Linked DNA regions of Homo sapiens: region 1 is linked to region 2. Evidence: promoter capture Hi-C in 16 types of primary human blood cells and fetal thymus (Javierre and others, 2016). All regions are on one chromosome and are shown on one strand. The core of a region is centred on a gene start or on the middle of the fragment in contact, and the rest is flanking DNA. Distances in the headings are between cores, read along the strand shown.

The links. The method cuts DNA at HindIII sites, captures the fragments that hold promoters and counts their contacts. A CHiCAGO score of 5 or more calls a contact.
Region 1: a contact is called between a fragment that was not itself captured here and the fragment with the promoter of HAPSTR1 in region 2, in 1 of 17 cell types (naive CD8 T cells). The highest score is 6.6, in naive CD8 T cells.

The regions. Positions count from the first base shown.
Region 1 is chr16:13,922,195-13,926,556 of GRCh38, reverse strand. ERCC4 (ERCC excision repair 4, endonuclease catalytic subunit) reads right to left here. Exons shown (of 11, transcript NM_005236.3): 2 at 4,346-4,362. LOC105371093 (a long non-coding RNA gene) reads left to right here. Exons shown (of 4, transcript XR_007065000.1): 1 at 1-32. It also overlaps the pseudogene RPS26P52. Among named protein-coding and RNA genes, the nearest start is that of ERCC4, 4.2 kb to the right of the region's middle. The HindIII fragment of the contact is 2,829 bases long and covers 1-2,728 here.
Region 2 is chr16:9,088,733-9,093,246 of GRCh38, reverse strand. HAPSTR1 (HUWE1 associated protein modifying stress responses) reads right to left here and starts at 1,603. Exons shown (of 4, transcript NM_014117.3): 1 at 977-1,603; 2 at 246-326. The coding sequence starts at 1,202. RefSeq lists enhancers at 134-303, 2,573-3,438 and silencers at 454-953, 1,164-1,503, 1,674-1,743, 2,532-2,662. The HindIII fragment of the contact is 14,700 bases long and covers 1-4,514 here.

The sequences.
Region 1 (4,362 bases), core at 65-2,564, 4.8 Mb before region 2:
GGGGGAGAAACATAATTTAAACTACAGAACAGGTAGGTAATTGCCATTCATTCATCACATTTTTCTTAAGTACTTACAAGAGAATGAATAAGCACCATTCTAGACTGGGCATATAGCCACGCACAGAACAGAGATAAATCCCTGTCCTCAAGGAATTGACTATAAACAATATAAATACGTAAAATATTTAGGATGCTACAAGTGCTGAGAAGAAAAAATGAATCAGAGAAGGAGGAGAGGGAGTATGTATGAGGGGTGGTCTCACCAAGGTGGTATCTGAATAAAGGCTGGATGGAGCCTTGTGACCATCTGGGCCAAGAGAGTTCCAGGCTGCCAGGCTGAGGGGACAGTGAGGGCACAGGCCCTGGGGTGGGGTGTTTCTGGCATGTCAGAGGAAGAATTTCTGAAAGCAAAGTAGGTCATGAATTTTTTTTTTTTAATGTATGAATCAGATGTGGACTATACAAAATAGCCACATTTTAGAAGTCTGGGCAACATCTACATTACCTATGAGATGAATTCAATTTTCAGAATCAGAAGATAGTCAATTCAGAGGTAAATTAGTCCATTTAAAACAAAAACCTTCAATCGACATACTTATACATGTCTTTGGGGGTGTACATGATTATAACACCTCAGCATCTCAAAAATAAGAACAATTATACATGCTTTGTTATTTATGAAATGAGACTACTGACCCAGATCTTTCATATATATTGTGTCATCTGATGCAGTGTGATTAGTGCTAAGTTAGGGAGAAACATGAGATGACATAAAGGCATACAGACATGCTTTCTAGATCAAAACCACAATTACTCCAAGACGAGTCTGTCTTTTAGACCTAAATCAAGCTGGTTACCTTATATATATTTGGCATAATGGTACTTGCATGCTTTTGATCCAGTTCTCATATCTGGAAGGGTATGGACAATAATACTAACAGTGATTTATGACCCTTCTAATAGTTCAATAAACTAAACTCAGATTTTACTATTTTAATGTTTAAGTTTTGGATAGAGGTGGATGGAGCTAAATTTACTCTAGCTCAGCAAATTATCTTCCAAATATAGTAAAAATTAATAATGTTATTTAGGAATTCATAGACAAAGGATTTTCAATAACCCCCCCAATACACGTACATAACTAATTTACTACTCAGAAAATATTCTGTACCTAATTGGTGGGTTTTCCCAAGGACTCTAAGAGGCCACATTTTGTTAGCCTGGATTGAAATATTACGTAGAGTCAAGAATAATAAAAATGAACTTCCAAAGAAAAGGAGAAACTCAATTTAAGAAAATGTTGCGCTCCAAAAAGTTGTCTTTATTTTGGTTGGAACCCAGGAGGAAGAAGAGAACTGATACTACATCCCAGGTAACTGGGTTAGGTGTTTCTATAGATTTTCATTTCATTTAATTGTTATGATAATTCCATGCAGTAGGTATCATGATGAGACCAAGGAAGGGAAGCAACTTAACCAAGGTCATCCAGCAAGCAAGTGGGAGGCCGAAGGTTCCAAATCATGTGTAAAATCATGTTATTCCTATTTAGTCACACCAACTCAAGACACTCCTTTTTCAAAAAATAAAAATAATAGAAGCAGGTTAGGTTTTTGGGAGGAGTTTTAGCTCCACAAAAGCCTACTTTAGTTTTTTTTGTTCCTATGACATTTTGTACCCATACTGTACTATAACTACTTCTTTACTTGTCTCCTCCATTAAACTGCCCGAGAACAGGAACATCGTAACACCAACAGGCAGAGATCACAGAGATCATAGAATGCTGACTATGTGCCATGCTACCAAGTATTTTACATATAAGCATTTCATTTCACCCTGACAATCCTAGGAGGAAGGTACTATCTTTATCACCAATGTACGGGTGAGTAAGCTGAGGCATAGAGAAATTAAGAAACTTGCCTAAAAATACACAGCTGGTGCAAGATGAAGATAACTCAAACCCAGAAGCAGTCTAACTCACGAGTTCACCATACTGTCCCATTCATCTGTCTATCTTCAGCACCCTTCCTGCCAAACAAGGGACCCTTAGTGAGTTAAATATTTGTTGAATGAATATAAAGTGGAGGCACAGCACTGGGTACACAAATCAAAAGTGTAACTGAAAAATACATATATATTTCCCAGAAAGTGTGTTCTTAGTTCTGTCTGGAGATGTCAGGGTCAGTTTTGGCAATGAAAGCATCCTCCTGTCCTGTTCTTTTCAAGGTACAACCTCACCAGATATTTATATAGTTCTCCCACGTGTTAGGAGTTCTGGTTAGCAGGGATTCCCAGGGTGGGGTGTGGTGGTAATAATGGGTGGTGACAGGTGAAGAAGTTGGGGCTGGGGGATTCAGCCTTTCCAGAGGGTTACCTGCACTTCACGCACTGCTCTTTGGTCAGTCCTGGGGGATGATCCCAGGGGATGAAAGAATTCAAAAGAATTCATTTTTGGCATTCATTTACATTCCACTCAGCCAAGCATCAGTAACAGCTCCAGCTTCATTATTCGGTGGGCTTTGATCAGAAAGGAGGAGGGAATTTGGCATTTTTCATTAGGAGCTACAGATAAGCCAGACTTCAACGTTGCATAAATTCACATTGCTCTCTGCCTAATTAGGTTGCACTGTAACTGAAAGTCACAGGATATTACTGACACCTAGTGGTAGTTTTAAACACAACAAAAAAATTTTTTTAAATCAATTTAAAAAATAAAGTAAAACCAAGCTTATAAGAAAGCAGCAAACAGTAAAAGACTGGTGTATCAAGATTTCTGGTTACAAAAGGCCAATTTTATTTGGTATGAATTACTAAGAGTTTGTTGTGTACCAGGCACTATACTAAGAAATTATTTTATTAACTTAATCCTTATAATAACTTCAGGAAGCACTGTTTTCTTAATGAGAAAACTGGGGTTAATGAAAATTAAGGAGTTTGCTTTGTAAGCAGGGTGTTAGCATTCAAAACCAGGTGAGCCTATGATACTGTTTATAACAATTATAAAAGTTATAAAAGAGTAACCAAACTTCTTCAGTCGGTTTACCATTGAAGCATTCATTGACACATTTATTTATCAAATTTTTCTTGAGGGTCATCTAGGTTCAGGGCAACATGACAGATACAGTGGGAATAAGATTATGAATTTCAGAGTCTCTCTGCCTCCAGAAGTTCACTAACGATCACAGTACTATATCCATCCATCATTCACCCAACAAATACGTCTTTAGTGCCTACCATGTACCAGTTATTTAGCCTGGGATGAACAACTTGTTCCTTGTGCTTCAGCTTATCTTGTGAGTGAGATAGACAAACACATAAATATAATGTAGTGTTGTGAGCACTATGACTGGGGAGAAATACAGGGTAATATGAGGGCACAGAGGCACAGCCCCTACATTAGCTTTGGGGACATCAGAAAAGGTTTTGAAAGGATAATGAAAATGAATTTCTTTTCTATTTAATTCTAGCTAAAATAATTTTTCCTCAAAATAAGCAAGCAACTACTTGATTTAATTTCAAATAATGCCAAAAAAATCTTAAGGAGGAAAACTAAATATTTTAGGAAATATACAAAGATTATTTATAAACATTTCAAATCTGATTAAGTTCTAAAAGCAAATGCTAACGAATTGCAAGTATTTACTGAATAAGAGCTTAGAAAACAATGAAAAGTTAATCTAACATTTAGTTACTTATTCAGGTCACAGATATTTACTGAGCATCTACAATGTGTCAGGTATCATGCTGAAAGTTGGAAGCATAATGTTGAACAAAAGGATCCAGTAGTGCCCACTAGAAGGTTCTAGTAGAGCGTTCAGCAGAGGAGACAGACAAAAATAAAAATGTAGAAAATACCCTCTCCGGTCCGTGCCTCCAAGATGACAAAGAAAAGAAAGGACAACGGTCATGCCAAAAAGGGCTGCGGCCATGTGCAGCCTATTTGCTGCACGAACTGTGCCTGATGTGTGCCCAAGGATAAAGCCATTAAGAAATTCGTCATTCAAAACACAGTGGAGGCCACAGCAGTCAGGGACATTTCTGAAGCGAGCATCTTCGACGCCTATGTGCTTCCCAAGATGTATGTGAAGCTAAATTACTGTGTGAGTTGTGCAATTCACAACAAAGTAGTCAGGAATCGATCTTGTGAAGCCTGCAAGGACCGAACACCCCCACCCAGATTTAGACCTGTGGGTGCTGCCCCACGACCCCTACCAAAGGTGATGTAGGGAGCTGAGTCCTTCAAGACTGAAGACAGACTATTCTCTGGAGAAAAATAAAATGGAAATTGTACTTAAAAAAAAAAAAGTACAAATTTACATACTAATAATAAGATTTCAAATTCTTACCAGTAATTAAATCTGAA
Region 2 (4,514 bases), core at 354-2,853:
AGCCCCTTCTAGGAGAAGCCAACCAAAAACGTCCCCAGGCGTTGCCATCTGTCCCGGGGGGCGGAGGGAGGTGTCAAAATCGCCTCCGGTGGATCTAGCTAGAGCACCGCCGCGATTCTCAAGTTGCAAGGTATTCAAGGTTAGCAGCTGGGCTGGGGAGCAGAAAACACACTTGGAACGCAGGGCAGACACCCTGACGCAGGCGGCCCTTCCCTGAATCGGCAATGCAGCAAGGTTATCTTTACCTTTGTAGAGATTGGTGACGGCGGTGGCTGCGTTTTGGAAGGGGACCCAGAGAGAAAGTCCTGGCTGCTGACACACTCGGTCTGAAAAGCAAGCCAAAAAAAAAAAAAACCAAAAAGAAAAAAGAAACACACATAGAAAGAGAAAGAAAGAGAACAAGAATGTTATTTGCGCGTCAATCACTCCGGAACGGCCATATTAGGTTTCGCCATTTTGTTCAGGGGTTTCGGGATCCCAAACCCAGTGTGAGGACCGGGGGGGCAGGGAGGTCGCGGCGGGGAAAAGGGGATGCCGCAGAGCTCAGGGGCACAGATCAGGGACGAGCCGCGGCGCAGGGAAGCGCCCCCCCTGGCAGTCCCCGCCCCGAGGCCGGCTCAGGGCACAATGGGGCCGCCCCGCCGTCTCCCTTCGCCATTTTGTGACGGGGGCTCCTCCTCTCCCGTCTCCGGGCCGAGGGGGACACCGGGTGGCCGGGCCCGGAGAGCGGGGACCCTCGGACCACCCCAAAGCGGGGCTACCCCCACGCCGGCTCTGGCCTGTCCCCCCAACCCCGGGCCTCCCTCCCGCGGCGCCATCTTGCGGGGAGGGGGCGGCAGGGCCGCGGAGCCACCGGCCGGGATCCCCGAGGCCGCCGCCGTCGCGGCCCCCCGAAGCGGCCGCTGAGCCGATAGGGCCGGGGCCGGGCCCGGGCGGGGGCGGCCAAGCGGTACCAAGATGGCGGCGGCGGCCTCACCTTTGTAGAGCTGGGCCACGGCGGTGGCCGAGTTCTGGAAGAGGTGCCACAGCTTCTGCTGCTTGTGCTCGGGCTGCGCGGCGGCCGCCGCCTCCTCCTGCAGCTCGGGGGGCAGCTGCTCGTCCTGTTCGGCCTCGGCCAGGCACTGCCGCTCCCACTTGGAGAACCAGTGCTCGGGCCCGTGCTCCTGGATCTCGGCCTCGCCCTCCTCCTTCCGCTCCTCCATCCTCCGCGGCCTCCCGCGGCCTCGCCGCCACCGCCGCCGCGTCCTCCTCAGGCGGGGCCCCCGCGGGAGCGTCGTCGTCAAGCGGCCCGGCGGCAGGGCCTGGCGACCGACGGCGCCTTCTCCTTTCAGCGGCCCAGGCCTCCTGCACCCCGACGGCCGGCGAGCCCCGCCCCGCGGCCCCGTGCAACCAGGGACGACCCCCGCCCCAGGCCTTCCCACCCCCGGGCCCGGCCGAAGGTCGCCGCGGACCAGATAACCGCTGCCGCCCCTCGCCTCGGCCGCCGCAGCCTGTCTAACGCCCCCCCATGGCGCTGCGGCCTCCCCACTGCCGCCGCCGCCGCTGATCGCCGAGCCCTCCGCGCAGCTCGGCCTGCACCGCGGAGCCCACCCCAAGACTGAGCAACGTCGTCGTCGTCGCCACCGCCGAGGACGGCTCTGCGGCTGCTGGTCCCCGCCCTACCCCGCCCACATGCTGACAGGAGAAGCACCGCCCACTGGGCCCAAGCTACCCTGCCCGGTTGAGGCGTGGCCGCTCCAAGGGCCCCTATTAGTCGGATCCGGCCGGTTCCGCGTGGCGGCTTCTGAGCACAGCGTCGTGATTGGTTCTTCGGCCTGTCTGCCTGACGTAACCAATTGGCTGGGGGAAGGGAGTGAATGTCAGGAAGGATGAAGGAGGAGGAGGGGGAGGAGCTGACAGTGGTTGCGTCCGAGCCAAGGGGGCGGGTGGGGGGTGGAGGGGAAGAGCTAGAAGGGATGCGCATGCGCACTTGCTCGCTGCTCCCCCCCCCGCTCAGGGGCGTTGAGTGGGGATCACGTGACGAGGCCCAGCGACCGCACCCCGCGGGAGCTTTTCCGGCGTGTACAGGCCCTGGGGGGATGCAAAGTCGAGTGCGGCTCCTGTGCCGCGGGCACTGAGAGGTATAGTGGGTGGTAGCGTGCTTACTCCAGCCCCTGGGGCTCCCAAAGGGAGGAGGGTAGTAGAGAAAGTGAATAAAACGCCCAACTCGTGTCCAAGTTTGCAAAGCGCTTTCCTATTCTTTTGAGTACTCCCCCTTTTTTTTTTTTTTTTTTGAGACGGGGTCTTGCTACGTTGTCGAGGTCTAGACTGCTGGCCTCAGGCGATCTTCCAGCCTCCCAGGGCGCTGGGATTACAGGCTTGAGCCACCGCGCCCGGCCCAGAGTCCCATTTCTTAGACGGGCAAATCGACCATCACAGCCAAAGAAAAACTTCCGAGTTGCGAAGTCGGCTCAGTTGCCCCTGCGCCCTGGCGTCCCCCGAGGACGTCGCGCCTTCCGGGTGGACAGGACCTCGGCGGCCGCCCGCGGAGCCAAGGATAACCCGACGGCCGACGGTGCCCGGTGCCCGCACGCGTGCGTCTGCGCCTTTGCGCGCGCGGCGGCCCCCGCACCTGTCCCGAAAAGCACACTCCCAGGCCACGTGCATGCCCCGCGTCACGTACCGGCCCCTGCCTTCCCCGGCCCGAACCCGCGTGGCGGTGCCGAGCGCTGCGCCCGCCCCTACTCCCCCCGCAGTGCGCGATAGCTGGACGCCCCTGCGGCTGCGCGCCCCCCTCCCCTGTCGGGGCTTTCTCCAGGGTCTGAGGCCCCGGAGAAGGCAGCAACGCAGACAGGCGGTGACCGCACAGAGGCAAAACCCACCATCCCCACCTACATGCCCACGGGAGGCACCATCCGGCCTGGAGCGGCGGAGGGCGCCGGCCAGAGGCAGCGTCGCCCGCAGCCTGCGATAGTGCGCTTGCACAGAGCAAGGCGGCTTTGGAAGAAAATCTGACCCCCTCACCGCGGCCTGCAAACCCCTGCAGGATCTGGCCCTGGCGCCTCTCACACAATCCCCTACTTGGCTTGTACCTTGCGCACTCCCCCTCTTCCCCACCTCGCCTGGACGCTCACACACTGGCCTGCCTTATTTCCCTGGGACACTAGGCTCTTTCCTGCCCCAGTCTGCTATCTCTGGAAGCTCTTCCTCCTCCTCTTTCCTCAGATAGCTCCTGTTTAGGAAGCCTACTAGGACAAGCCTAAAGTAGCACCCTTCACACTGTCTCGTATTGCCTGGTTATATTATTTCATAACATCAATCACTATCTAAAATGCTAAATTAGGCCTGGCGCGGTGGCTAAAAAACAGGTTTCCAATTGTAGGGAAGAATATAAAGTGAAAAGCAAACAAAAATCATTCTACCTACCTCATTCTACATCCTCCCAATCCTATTCCCAGGAAATAACTTGTGACCTTTGAAAACGGAGTTATGTGTACGTCGAGTGTGTATGTGTGTGTGTACCTATATACAAGTATGTCCCTTCTTAAGGAAAAAAAAAGATGATTTTATGTGTACTATCCTACAAGCCTTTTTTCCTTAACATAATTTGGATGTCTCCACATTGGGACCTAAAGACTTATTTATTCTTTTAAAATATTGCAAATAATTTCATTGTATGGATTCACTACAAAGTATTTTACAGGGCCCCTATTGATACAAATTTAGATTGTGACCAGTCTTTGGCTATTATAAACAATGCCATAATGAACATCTTGTACATATGTAATACAGTGAACATCCTTGCATATATACATATGTGTATTGAATATATATCCTCAGAAATAGTATTTTAGAGTCACAAGGTATATGAGTTAAATATTTTAGGAGGGTAGGCATGGTAGCTTACACCTATAATCTCAACAATTTAGGAGGCCAAGACGCAAGGATTGCTTGAACTCAAGAGTTCAAGACCAGCCTAGGCGACATAGTGAAACCCAGTCTCTACAAAAAAATACAAAACACAGCCAGGCATGGCGGCACACACGTGTAGTTCCAGCTACTCAGGAGGCTGAGGCGGGAGGATTGCTTGAGCCCAGAAGGCATAGGTTGCAGTGAGCCGAGATAGTGCCACTACACTCCAGCCTGGGTGACAGAGACCCCATCTCAATCAATCAATCAATCAATAAAACTGCCTGCTGAGTGTACGATCAATGGTTGTTGATATGTCAATTTCTACATTTCTGCATTCATGGTAGCACGTGGGAAGTCCAGGCCTGCACATGTAGGTATGACAAAGGAGAGAACACAGCTGGACGATTTCGCTGCCTGCAGGCTCCGCTTCAAAAGCCACACACCACTTTGGACAGTCCAAAGGTTTCGAGTTTTTACAGAATGAAGGCTGCTCTTCTTCTCCTTCATGTAACTCAGACCCTGTTCCAGAAGCCTCTGGCCTTTTCTTGTAAGAACATAATATTTCAGCCATACATACAAGATGGAATGATATTGAATAGCATAAACGCTGGCTCTATAATAAA